Regions from separate parts of the Homo sapiens genome. Here regions 2, 3, 4 and 5 are each linked to region 1. The links are contacts of gene promoters, found by promoter capture Hi-C in human tissues and cell types (Jung and others, 2019). All regions are on one chromosome and are shown on one strand. The core of a region is centred on a gene start or on the middle of the fragment in contact, and the rest is flanking DNA. Distances in the headings are between cores, read along the strand shown. Region 1 holds the start of PTGIS (prostaglandin I2 synthase). Region 2 overlaps SPATA2 (spermatogenesis associated 2). Region 3 overlaps DDX27 (DEAD-box helicase 27). Region 4 has its middle 15 kb from the start of SNORD12. Region 5 overlaps SLC9A8 (solute carrier family 9 member A8).

Evidence for each region. Contacts are between HindIII fragments. The study calls those that stand out against the background at their distance.
Region 2: a contact is called between a fragment that was not itself captured here and the fragment with the promoter of PTGIS in region 1, in 1 of the 25 tissues and cell types used here (lymphoblastoid cells).
Region 3: a contact is called between a fragment that was not itself captured here and the fragment with the promoter of PTGIS in region 1, in 1 of the 25 tissues and cell types used here (dorsolateral prefrontal cortex).
Region 4: a contact is called between a fragment that was not itself captured here and the fragment with the promoter of PTGIS in region 1, in 1 of the 25 tissues and cell types used here (dorsolateral prefrontal cortex).
Region 5: a contact is called between a fragment that was not itself captured here and the fragment with the promoter of PTGIS in region 1, in 7 of the 25 tissues and cell types used here (H1 embryonic stem cells, IMR-90 fibroblasts, dorsolateral prefrontal cortex and 4 more).

The regions. Positions count from the first base shown.
Region 1 is chr20:49,566,860-49,569,423 of GRCh38, reverse strand. PTGIS (prostaglandin I2 synthase) reads left to right here and starts at 1,287. Exons shown (of 10, transcript NM_000961.4): 1 at 1,287-1,381. The coding sequence starts at 1,308. LOC101927486 (a long non-coding RNA gene) reads right to left here and starts at 1,380. Exons shown (of 2, transcript XR_244188.4): 1 at 1,251-1,380. RefSeq lists enhancers at 1-370, 371-987. The HindIII fragment of the contact is 24,721 bases long and covers 1-2,564 here.
Region 2 is chr20:49,910,612-49,913,175 of GRCh38, reverse strand. All of the region lies in intron 1 of SPATA2 (spermatogenesis associated 2), which reads left to right. Among named protein-coding and RNA genes, the nearest start is that of SPATA2, 3.6 kb to the left of the region's middle. The HindIII fragment of the contact is 3,455 bases long and covers 1-2,564 here.
Region 3 is chr20:49,238,214-49,240,777 of GRCh38, reverse strand. DDX27 (DEAD-box helicase 27) reads right to left here. Exons shown (of 21, transcript NM_017895.8): 15 at 1,723-1,829; 16 at 1,440-1,542. Among named protein-coding and RNA genes, the nearest start is that of DDX27, 20 kb to the right of the region's middle. The HindIII fragment of the contact is 3,226 bases long and covers 1-2,564 here.
Region 4 is chr20:49,293,955-49,296,518 of GRCh38, reverse strand. No RefSeq gene overlaps it. Among named protein-coding and RNA genes, the nearest start is that of SNORD12, 15 kb to the right of the region's middle. RefSeq lists enhancers at 493-1,425, 1,426-2,359, 2,360-2,564. The HindIII fragment of the contact is 7,192 bases long and covers 1-2,564 here.
Region 5 is chr20:49,834,932-49,837,495 of GRCh38, reverse strand. The region is part of intron 3 of SLC9A8 (solute carrier family 9 member A8); the gene reads right to left. Among named protein-coding and RNA genes, the nearest start is that of SLC9A8, 23 kb to the right of the region's middle. RefSeq lists enhancers at 424-924, 925-1,425. The HindIII fragment of the contact is 7,659 bases long and covers 1-2,564 here.

The DNA.
Region 1 (2,564 bases), core at 38-2,537:
TGCTGGGACTATGGAATGAAACGTGCCTAAGCTCACCCGGCACTGAATGGGTGGATACAGGACTAGAACAAGACCTCCTGGGTCTTACCTCCAGGTTCAGCCCATGGTTTCATAAAACTTAGTGTGCCAAGCACTCAACAGTTTGTGATTCCTTTTAGTGTCAAGCTCTCATCACTTCCTCACAACAGCCCCAGAGGTAAGCACAACTCTGCCCTCCCTGTTTCCAGATAATGAGGTGAGCTCAGAGAGGTTGAGCTACCTGCCCAACGCTTCCCAGGGTGGGAATGGGGATGGTGGGGGCAGGGGCGTGGAGTGAGGCTGGATTGACCCCCAGTTCTCATCAGCACCCTGGGGTGGTACATTGCAGAGCCGCGGGCACAGGGGGCTGGCACCCCAAGCACCAGGTAGCGATGACAATGGCCACCACATCCGGAGGCCCTAACGTGCACCAGGTAGAGGGTGCATACTTCACGGGCACTATCTGTCCCCAAAGCAGGTGAGGATGAGGGGACTCCCTGAGACACCCTTGTACCCCCTGCCCAGTAGTTACTGAAGATACTATAGGGTGCGATATAATCCAGACCAGCCCTCCCAGCCCAGACCACAGAATGGAAAACTCCAGGTCCCCAGCACGCCTGGGGTGGGGGATGGGGTGAGGAGGAGCCTTGGGGGGTTTCCTCTGTCTAGGTGGAATGTGGAATGTGGTGGGAAAGCTCCTCCTGACCCCCTTACACTCCTCCTCCATGTTCGTCCCCTCCCACCACATTTTCTCCTCCCACTGTGCCCCCTCCTCCCCATACCTCCTTGGCTGTTTCCCCATCGTCCCGCCGTCTTCCCACATTCCCTCCTCTTCCCTTCCCCAAAAGTCCTCTCCCATCTTCCCCATCCCTCTTCCCTCCCCGCATATAATCTCTTCCTTCCTGTAAATCCTCTCCCTCTCCCCTCCCTTCCATCACCCCCCAGTCCACCACATCCCCCTCAGTCCCCCATCTATCTCCTTTCCCCTTGATCACTCCCCAGCCCACCACATCCCTTCCGCCCCCTCCCCCTCCCCCTCCTTCTCCCCTCCCCTCCCTCCCACATTTTCCATCAGGCCTGAGCTGGGGGGAGCAGGGTTTCTAACAGAGCGCCCCGGTCCGACCCCTGCGGACCTCGGAGGGCCCCATCCCCCACCCCCCCCACCCCGCCCCAAAGCGGGCTGGGGTGGGCGGAGTGGGAGGGGCGCGCCGGGTGGGGGCGGGGAACTTTACCTGGGAGTGGGCCAGGCCGCCAGCCCCGCCAGCCCCGCCAGCCCCGCCAGCCCCGCGATGGCTTGGGCCGCGCTCCTCGGCCTCCTGGCCGCACTGTTGCTGCTGCTGCTACTGAGCCGCCGCCGCACGCGGTGAGTGTCCTGCTCCGCTCGGCCCCGCCAGACAAAGGGGGCGGCTCCCGCCCGGGCTGCAGCCCAAGGGTCTCGGAGCCCGCGGCCGGCCCGGCCCGAGTCCCGCTCCAGTATCCCGGGCAAGGCGAGACCCTCGGAGGTGGGAGTCCCGGGGCCCCGCACGTGGGTGAGGGGGCCAGGCCGTGCTCCCCCTGCCAAGAAGGTGCAAGGTGGGAAGGTGCGGGGTCCGGTAGGTCCCCCGGGGCGAATCGCCCACCGCGACAAGTCCGAGTCTGGCCCTTAGCGCGACGGCAGGGACCTAGGAGGGGGTTTCAGGTGAGGACCGAGGGTTTGTGGGTGGGGAGCCGTGCGGGGACAGCCTCTGCGTGGCCCGGGTGGAAGAAGCGCTCTCCACTCTCCAGCCTCTGCCTGCACCTGGCACCCACCTACGCGCTGTCAAACCCTGCCTTGCTTTCGGCAGTCCTATAGGGATAGCCTCGCTCCTCAACCCATTACACAGATGGGAGTGTTGAGCCAGCGGAGTGTAGAGCCCCTGGGGGATGTCTTGATCATGCCCTGGAACCACCCACCCCGGGATTCCCCGTCTGGAAGACGGGGGTCGGTGGGCTTAGTAATTTCATTTGCCAGGGAGAAACTGAGGCCTATGAAGTCTCTACCTTCCCCTGAGGTCCCACAGCCTGGACAGAACGGAGCCAGGGTCAGATGTCACAGCCTCCTGGTCCCAAAGGTTTTCCAGCTCCATTGAGCATCTGTGATTTAGGAGAAAAAGTAAAGACAGCCTCAAATCAAGGAGATAGCTGTAGCTCTCCTTTTCATAAAATATTTTTTAAGTTAACTTGAATTGCATAAGGAATAGCTGAATACATTCGACTTAACACAAATATTTATCCTGTTATAGGTAAGACCGAAGCCCCTTAACCCTCCCCCAGCCCCTGAAGTCTAGTCCTCTCTCCCTCTCTGGGCCTCTCCTGTTGCTGAGTCTGGGTAGAACCTTCCATATTTAAAAAAATATACTTTTTATTTGAGACTAGTTTGGGATTTACAGAAAGTTGCAAAGATAGTACAAAAAGTTCCTGTATTTCTCTCACCCCGTTTTCCCTATTGTTAACATCTTACATTGTTATGGGACATTTGTCGCCACTAAAAACCAACACTGGTCCGTTACTCTTAACTAAACTTCAAA
Region 2 (2,564 bases), core at 20-2,519, 340 kb before region 1:
ATGCTTAGCACATAGTAGAACCTCAGTAATTGTTAGTCTCTTTCTTTCCTTTCCTTATTGACTGATTGAGACAAGGTCTTGCTCTGTCACCCAGGCCGGAGTGCAGTGGTGCCATCATAGCTCACTGCAGCCTCAAACTCCTGGGCTCAGTGGATCCCCCCACCTCAGACTCCCAAGTAGCTAAGACTACAGGTGGGTGTCACCACACCCACCTAATTTTTTTTTTTTTTTTTTTTGTAGAGACGGAGTCTAACTATGTTGTCCAGGCTTGTCTTGCCCTTAATTATCTTTTAGCTTTTACTTTCTTCCGCCTTTTCCCTCACCTACCCAGGTTGGTTTGAGATTTGTTTTAGATAGGCTTCCTGTCCTTATTGTGAGTATTTTGAACATCAGCTGGGCTGTTTGGATCCCTTTCCTTTATTTATTGTTTTTCAGCAACAAACAAGGGTGTGGACTGTGGTGCGATTATAGAGCAGCAGACGCTGAGCCGAGCTTGAGACTGGCTGACTTTGTAAAAAATCAGTCTCTTTGAGTTCAAGGCTGACTTCCTTGGAGAAAAATTACAGCAGTATTCGGAAGCTTAATGTCTCTGTGTTTGAATGGTTCTCAGACTACCAAAAAACAGACCCTGGGGCCAGAGGCGTGATGGCAGCTTCTCTTAGATAAGTCAAGAATGGTAAATGCATGTGTGACTATCCTCTCCAGTGGTGCAATACATTTATTTATGTAGAGATGGAGTTTTTGCTCTGTTGCCCAGGCTGGAGTGCAATGGCACGATCTCAGCTCACTGCAACCTCTCCCTCCTGGGTTCACGCCATTCTCCTGCCTCAGCCTCCTGAGTAGCTGGGATTACAGGTGTTCGTCCAGCTAATTTTTGTATTTTTAGTAGAGGCGGGGTTTCGCTATGTTGGCCAGGCTAGTCTCAAACTCCCAATCTCAGGCGATCCACCCACCTTGGCCTCCCAGAGTTGTAGGATTACAGGCGTGAGCCACCGCGCCTGGCCTGCATTTTTATTTTTTAAGAGAATATACATTTTAAATTGTTTATTTTTTTATGGACAGAACAGTATGAAGTTAGAGCACATACCTACTTTGATACTAGGTGGTATGCTCTTCCAGCTAGAGCTGCAGGCAGGATGTGTCTCCTTTATTGCTGTCCTCTACCTGTCCCACCCATCCCCATTCCCCGACTGGGTCCAGCTCAGGCAGAGGGTGGGGGCTGCAGAAATGCTTGCTGGACATGGGAATCGTGGGGTGGTGAGAGGAATACAGGTTCCAAGTCAGAAGGCCAGGCTTGGATTATCGGGTCCATCATCTGCTAACCTTGAGCTACTTGTCGTACCTCATGCCATCTTTCTGAGCCCGTTTCTTTGCTCTCCAGCTGATCTCCCAGGATTCTTGGGAGGTACCAATGAGAAACTAAAGTGATGGCATCGTGAATGCAGACATCCTTTGCAGCATCCATTTCTCTTTTTCTCTTTTCTTTTTCTTTTTCTTTTTTTTTTTTTAGAGACGGAGTCTCGCTCTGTTGCCCAGGCTGGAGTGCAATGGGGCGATCTCGGCTCACTGCAGCCTCCGCCTCCTGGGTTCTAGCAATTCTCCTGCCTCAGCCTCCCGAGTAGCTGTGATTACAGGCGCATGCTGCCACACCCGTCTAATTTTTTTTTAAATTTTGGTAGAGACGGGGTTTCACCGTGTTGCCCAGGCTGGTCTCGAACTCCTGAGCTCAGGCAATCCACCTGCCTCGGCCTCCCAAAGTGCTAAGATTACAGGCGTGAGCCACCGTGCCTGGCTGCAGCATCCATTTCACCTACTTTATCAAGCACAGGCAGGCTCTGTGTTAGGCATCGTGGTGAACAACACAGACATGGTCCTTGCCTTTATGGAGCTTACCACGAGCTTACCAGCTTACCAGGGAGGGTGAGGGGTGGACAAAGAGAGGAAGCTAATGAATGAATGAAGTTGATAGTTTCAGATTGTGGTTATCGTAGGAGAATGTGACAGTGTGGAACTGGGAAGGTGAGATAGGGTGGTACCTCTAGAGGCTGATGTTTGAGCTGAGGCCTGAATGATGAGAATCTTCCTGAAGCAGAATTTTATCCCAAGTGGATTTTGTTTTCTTTTGTAAAGACAGGGTATTGCTATGTTGCCCAGGCTGGTCTCGAACTCCTGGCCTTGAGCAATCCTCCTGCCTTGGCCTTCCAAAGTTTAGGGATTACAGGCGTGAGCCCCCGCACCTGGCCCCTAAATGGATGTGTTTGCCTCCTGTACTCCTCAGCCTTATTTGTCACTGTAGCACTGGGCTCCCTCAGCAGTGCAGTGTGTTGGAGACAGTGGCCTCTCTGTGTCCCTAGTTTTGCTACACATCCCACCTCTCACCGCACCATTAGTACTCCCAGGAGTCTCCTCCTGGGGACAAAATCTGTGGAGGAGCCAGACTACTGGCTCTTTGAGATGAGGATGATTTTGTTGACCTCCTGATAGTTGCTGGGCTCGTAGGACCTTCCTAGCTGAACACAGGTCTGCTAAAGGAGTCCCCCACATGCCAGGCCCAGTCCTGCTGC
Region 3 (2,564 bases), core at 27-2,526, 330 kb after region 1:
ATCTACTCATATGATGGAAGAACATGAAGCCATTAAAAAAAACAAAAAGGGGGCCGAGTGCAGTGGCTCACACCTGTAATCCCAGCACTTTGGGAGGCCAAGGCAGGCGGATCACGAGGTCAGGAGATCGAGACCATCCTGGCTAACACGGTGAAATCCCATCTCTACTAAAAATACAAAAAATTACCCAGGTGCGGTGGCAGGCACCTGTAGTCCCAGCTACTCAGGAGGCTGAGGCAGGAGAATGGGGTGAACCCAGGAGGCAGAGCTTGCAGTGAGCCGAGATTGCGCCACTGCACTCCAGCCTCAGTGACAGAGCAAGACTCCGTCTGAAAACAAAAAACAAAAAGGGCAGCATATGTGGGCCTATATAAAACATATCTCTAAGCTTCAAAATTAAGTGAAAAGGCGAGGCATAGAACAATGTGAACTTATAAGTGTTTTGGGTCTTTTTTAAAGGGAGATGGAGAGGAAATCTGTATTAAATATCTCCTAACTTTTTTAAAATTATTTTTATTGTGGTTATATATACACATATAAAACAAAGGCTGCCATTTTACCCAATCTTAAGTATACAATTCAGTGGCATTACTTACATTCACAACATTGTACAACCATCACCACTATCTGTTTCCAAAACTCCTATCAGGAGGCTACTCACTGACATCATTGAAAACAGAAGCTCTGCAACCACTAATAATTTCCTATAACCCCCCTTCCCCTAGCCCTAAGTAATCTATAATCTATTTCTGTCTCTGTGAATTTGCCTAGCTAGATATCTCAGGTAAGTGAAATCAGACAGTATTTGTCCCTTTGTGTCTGGATTATTTCATTCAGCTTAAGATTTTCAAGGTTCATCCTTATGGCATGTATCAGAACTTCATGGCTGAATAATATTCCATTGTGTGTATATAAACACACACCCCAAATTTTGTTTATCCATTCACTTGTTGATGAACATAGTTTGTTTCCACCTTTTTGCTATTATGAACAGTAATTCAAAGAGCACTGGCATCTAAGTATCTGTTTGAGTCCCTGTTTACATCCTTTACAACAGTGGTCCCCAACCCCAGGCTGCATACCGGTTCCAGTCCATGGCGTATTAGGAACCAGGCTGCACAGCAGGACGTGAGCATTGGGCAACCAAGCATTGCCACCTGTGCTTGGCCTCCTGTCAGATCAGCAGCAGCATTAGATTCTCATAAGAGCACTAACCCTATTGTGAAGTGCGCATGCGAGGGATCTAGGGTGTGCACTCCTTATGAGAATCTAATGCAACCCCCACACCCCAAATGTGGAAACATTGTCTTCCACGATACTGGTCCTTGGTGCCGAAAGGTTGGGGACCGCTGCTTTACAGTATAGAACTAGGAAATGGAACTGCTGAGTCCTGTGGGGTAATTCTGTATTTAGATTTCTGCGGAACCTCCCTGACTTACTTTTCTCCTTCTTCCTCTCTTCTTTGGTCTGGAACCAGCTCCTCTCGGGCTCTTGGACCACTGCCTCCTTCCCCTTCTCCAGGAGCCGCTTTGCTGTATTGATCTGTAGAGATAACAAAAGGATGCCTGCCGTGAAACCCGTATCTACTAACACAGGAAGCCACGGGCTGCAAATGCCTGGGGCTCTGATGGGAGAAACATTTCAGAAGGGCAGCACCAGCAGGGATGCAGCAGCTTGCTTACTGAGCAGCCTTGTGAACAAGATCCCGCCTCGCAGCCTCACCTGGGCTTCTGACTGCTGCATCTCTTTTTCCTCCGCCTCTAGCTGCAGAACTGCATACACATCTTTCTCCATTTTCTCAATCTTGTCCCGGAATTTGAGGATGACATCTCAATGGGAGAAAATAAAAAGGATTTACAAATAAGGGTAGGCCAGGCATGGTGGCTCACACCTGTAACCCGGCACTCTGGGAGATTGAGGTGGGAGGATTGCTTGAGCCCAGGAATTTGAGGCCAGCCTGGGCAACGTGGCCAGACTCTGTCTCTACAAAAAAAAAAAAAAAAAAAAAAAAAGCCAGGCACAGTGGCTCATGCCTGTAATCCCACGCTTTGGGAGGCCAAGGCAGGTGGATCACCTGAGGTCAGGAGTTTGAGACCAGCTTGGCCAATGCTGTGAAACCCCGTCTCTATTAAAAATACAAAAATCAGCTGGGTGTGGGGGCACACGCCTGTAATCCCAGCTACTACTCAGAAGGCTGAGGCAGGAGAACTGCTTGAACCCACGAGGCGGAGGCTGCAGTAAGCCAAGATGACACCACTACACTCCAGCCTGGGCAAAAGAGCGAGACTCCATCTAAAAAAAAAAAAAAAATTAGCCATCATGGTGGCACACACCTGTAGTCCCACCTACTCAGGAGGCTGAGGAGAAGAACTGCTTGAACCCAGGAGTTCGAGGCAACAGTAAGCTATGATCGCACCCCTGTACCCCAGCCTGGGCAACAAAGCAAGACCTTATCTTAAACAAAATAAGGCAGTGGCTCAAGCCTGTAATCCCAGCACTTTGGGAGGCCAAGGCGGGTGGATCACGAGGTCAAGAGATCGAGACCATCCTGGACAACATGGTGA
Region 4 (2,564 bases), core at 21-2,520, 270 kb after region 1:
CCATCAGGAAACTCCACAAACCTCAATTTATCCCAGACAATTTTGGAGGAAAAACCCAAGTCAGCAAAGAATATGGAAATTACTGAGAAGGTACGAGGTCCACGGAGGCTGCATCTTAAAGAATGATTGCCATCGGCCGGGCGCAGTGGTTCACACCTGTAATCACAGCACTTTGGGAGGCCGAGGCGGGCAGATCATGAGGTTAGGAGATCAAGACCATCCTGGCCAACATGGTGAAACTCTGTCTCTACTAAAAATACAAAAATTAGCTGGGTGTGGTGGTGCATGCCTGTAATCCCAGCTACTCGGGAGGCTGAGGCAGGAGAATCACTTGAACTAGGGAGGTGGAGGTTGCAGTGAGCTGAGATCACGCCACAGCACTCCAGCCTGGCGACAGAGCGACACTCCATTTCAAGGAAAAAAAAAAAGAAATTCAAATTTAACTGAGCATCCTATGTTTCAGGGGGCATCCCAGCTCAGGAATGACAAGAACAGTGCTGAAAGGGACACAGCTCAAGCTACAGAGGTCTCCAACTGGTGGCCTCCAGGCCATATGAGGCCCATGCATTGTGTGTTGCTCAGTCTTCACAGTTTATAAAATTGGAACAGGCTACAAACATTTCAAAGAACTTTAAAGGATTTCTTGCCTCTTTAAAAATGGGAAGCTCCAACCATGCAGGTAGAAGCTGCCCCACTATGGGAACATAATGGGGACAGAAGGGAATGTGGAAAAGTGAAAACTGATCACTGACTTGTTAGGATGGAGAAATTGTGAATAAATCTGTTTAGGGGTTGTTTATTGCATAAGGAGTCTGGAAGTGACAATGTCAGTAGCCCATGCCTGGAGAACCGGCCCTCTGCAGGCTCCACTGCTGCGGTCCCAGAAGTGCTGGCTGCAGTGTCTGAAAAACTTGCCCATCTGCACCATCTCTGCCAGACGGACTTGTACTTCCCTCTTTCCAGGCACAAGATGAAGGCCTCTTGCCATGGGCTGGAGAAATCAGTCGCTACAACACCCCTTGCAGACACAGGCTGGAGCTGCAAGTCCTGGGAGAGACCTGCTCTATCTTCTCTGGCAATTGTGGCCACTACTAGAGGAGCTCAGGCAGGCAAAATCTAGGAAAAGAAAAAGAAGATTGAGCCAATGGCTAATACATAACAGAGCCGGGATTTAAACCCAAGTCTAGCTCCAGAGCCTATGTTTGTTTTTAACATTTTTAAAAAGCACTTTCGGAGGGTGAGGCAGGAGGATCACTTGAGACCAGGAGTTTGAGATCAACTCCAGCAACATAGTGAGACCCCTATCTCTAAAAAAATTTAAAAATTAGCTGAGTGTGGTAGCACGCACCTGTAGTCACAGCTACTCAGGAGGCTGAGGTGGGAGGATTGCTTGAACCCGGAAGGTGGAGGCTGCAGTGAGCTAAGATCGCACCATTGCACTCCAGCCTGGGTGACAGAGCAAGACCCTGTCTCAAAAATAAATAATAAAAAAATTGTCATACAATAAAACTATTTTTTTATTTTGCTGTACAGTTCTATAAATCTGGGTTTTTGTTTTGTTTCGAGACGGAGTCTCACTCTATTGCCCAGGCTGGAGTGCAATGGTGCGATCTCAGCTCACTGCAGCCTCCACCTTCCAGGTTCAAGTGATTCTCCTGCCTCAGCCTCCCAAGTAGCTGGGATTACAGGCACGCGCCACCACGCCTAGCTAATTTTTGTATTTTTAGTAGAGATGGAGAGATGGGGTTTCACGATGTTGGCCGGGGTGGTCTCAAATTCCTAACCTCAGGTGATCCACCCACCTGGGCCTCCCAAAGTGCTGGGATTACAGGCGTGAGCCACCATGCCTGGCCCAGTACATTCATATAACCACTACGGCAATCATGACACCCCAAACACTTCCTTGTGCGATCCCTTTACATCCACATCCGCCACCCATCCTAACTTCTGGCAACACCATCATCTCTTCCCTTCATCATACCTTTGTCTTTTCCAGAATGTCAAATAAATGGAATCACACAGCATGTAACCATTTGAGGCTGGCTTCCCTCAGTCAGCATCGCATCTCTGGGGTTCATCCAAGTTGTTGCACAATCACTAGTTTATTCCTTTTCACTCGGATGAAGATGACTATTACTTATCGGGGGACCTGCCCTGATAATCACGTAGGTTCTTTTCTATTTTCCTAAGCATCAGCTGGCTTGAGAAATAAAGGGACAGAGTACAAAAGAGAGAAATTTTAAAGCTGGGCGTCCGGGGGTGATATCACACGTTGGTAGGATCCGTGATGCCCCACAAGCCACAAAAACCAGCCAAGTTTTTGTTAGGGATTTTCAAAAGGGGAGGGAGTGTGTGAATAGGCGTGGGTGACAGACATCAAGTACTTAACAGGGTAATAGAATATCACAAGGCAAGTGGAGGCAGGGCGAGATCACAGGACCACAGGACCGAGGCGAAATTAAAATTGCTAATGAAGTTTCGGGCACCATTGTCATTGATAACATCTTATCAGGAGACAGGGTTTTGAGATCAACCAAAATTTATTAGGCAGGAATTTCCTCTTC
Region 5 (2,564 bases), core at 43-2,542, 270 kb before region 1:
CATGAAAAGATGTTCAACATCATAAATCATTAGGGAAATGCAAATAAAAACTACAATGAGATACCACTCCATACCTACTAGGATGGTTATGTAAACCAGAGTATCTGAGACAAGTCTCAGTCAAGTTAGGAAGTTTATTTTGCCAACATTAAGGATGACCACCCTTGACACAGCCTCAGGAGGTCCTGACGACATGTGCCCAAGGTGGTCGGGGCACAGCTTCGTTTTATACATTTTAGGGAGACATGAGACATCTATCAACAATGTAAGATGTACATTGGTTTGGTCTGGAAAGGTGGGACAACTAGAAGCAGGGAGGGGGCTTCCAGGTCACAGATAAATAAGAGACAAACAGTTTCATTCTTTTGAGTTTCTGATTAGCCTTTCCAAAGGAAGCAATCAGATATGCATTTATCTCAACAAAGAGAGGGGTGACTTTGAGTTCTGTCCTTTGTCCACAAGGAATTTTCTTGTGTACAAATTGAGAGGGAGGTATGTTAACTTTTTTATCTTAGTAGCTATCTTTTTAGAAATAGAATGGGAGGCAGGTTTGTCCTAAGCAGCTCCCAGATTGACCTTTCCCTTTAGCTTAGTGATTTTAGGGTCCCAAGATTTGTCTTCCTTTCACAGTTATAATTTTAAAGATGAGAAATAAGTGTTGGCAAGGATATAGAGAAATTGGAACACGCACTCATTGCTGATGGGAATGTAAAATGGGGCAACCACCATGGAAAACAGTTTGGCAATTCCTCAAAAGTTACCTTATGACCCAGCAATTCTACTCAAAGAAACTGAAAACATGTTCATGTAAAAACCTGTACACAGATATTCCTAACAGCAGTATTTCAAACAGTCACAGGGTGGAAAGAGGCCAGGTGTGGTGGCTCACACCTGTAATCCCAGCACTTTGGGAGGCGCAGGTGGGTGGACTGCTTGAGGTCAGTTCAAGACCAGCCTGAACAACATGGTGAAACCCCGTCTCTACTAAAAATACAAAAATTATCTGCGCATGGTGGTATGCACCTGCAGTCCCAGCTACTTGGGAGAGGCAGGAGAATCGCTGGAACCTGGGAGGCGGCGGTTGCAGTAGGCCGAGATTGCGCCACTGCACTCCGGCCTGGGTGACAAAGTTAGACTCCATTTCAAAAAAAAAGTGGGAAGAACCCAAATGTCTATCAACTAATGAGTGAGTAAACAAAATGTGGTATATCCATACAATGTAATATTATTCAGCAATGAAAAGGAATGAAGTACTGGTACCTGCCAGAACATGGAAGAATCTTGAAAATACACCAAGTGAAAGAAGCCAGACACAAAAGACCATATATTTTACCATTCCATTTATATGAAATGTCCACAATAGACAAATCTACAGGGACAGTAATGGTTGCCCAGGGACAGGGAGGAGAGCTAAAGGGCATGTGGTTTCTTTTTGAGGTGATAAAAATGTCCTAAAATTGACTGTGGTGATGGCTGCACGACTCTGAACATACTAAAAATTGTTGTACATTTAAAATGGGTGAATTGGCTGGGCATGGTGGCTCATGCCTGTAATCCCAGCACTTTGGGAGGCTGAGGTCAGGAGTTCAAGACCAGCCTGGTCAACATAGTGAAACCCCGTCTCTACTAAAAATACAAAAAAAGCAGTTGGGCGTGATGGCGGGCACCTGTAATTACAGCTACTGGGGAGGCTGAGGCAGGAAAATCGCTTGAACCCAGGAGGCGGAGGTTGCAGTAAGCTGAGATTGTAGCACTGCACTCCAGCCTGGGTGATAGAGCAAGACTCCATCTCAAAAAAAAAAAAAAAAAAAAAAAAGTGAATTGTGTGGCATACAAAGTACATCTCAATAAAGCTGTTGCCAAATAAAAAGTACCACCGATTGTATGATTCTATTTCTTTATACGAAATGTCCAGGACAGGCAAATTCACAGACAGAAAGTAGATTGGTGGTTTCCAGGGGATGGGAGAAGGGAGAAATGTGGAAATGGGGAGTGACTGCTAATGGGTATGAGTTTCTTTTTGGGGTAATGAAAATGTTCTGGAATTAGGTAGAGGTGATGGTAGTACAACTCTGTGAATATACTAAAAAACTCTGAATTGTGCACTTTAAGATGGTGAAATTTATGATATGTGAATTATATTGTACCTTTTTTTTAAAATCACAACCTTTTGAACCATTGCCCCACTGATGGTTGCCTCCAGCTGTTTGCTATTAACAGTGGTGCTGCATTGAACATGCTTGTACATGCCACTCTGTGTTAAGAGTATCTCCCTGTGGAAGACATTCACAAAAAAAAAAACAAACCCAGACTATCTCCCTAGGGCAGATCCAGAGACTACAAATGGCAGGTTTACAAAGCATAAGCATTTTTAACTCTGAAAATATTGCCAAATTATCCTCCAAAGTGGTTGTACCGACTTACACTTCCACAAGAAAGCGTCCCACATCCTCAGTCGCGCTGGATAATCATCAGATGTTAACATTTCTGCCAACATAGTGGGCAAGAAATTGTACTTTAATGTTTCAATTTGTATTTGATTCAATTTGCATTCAGCAATCATC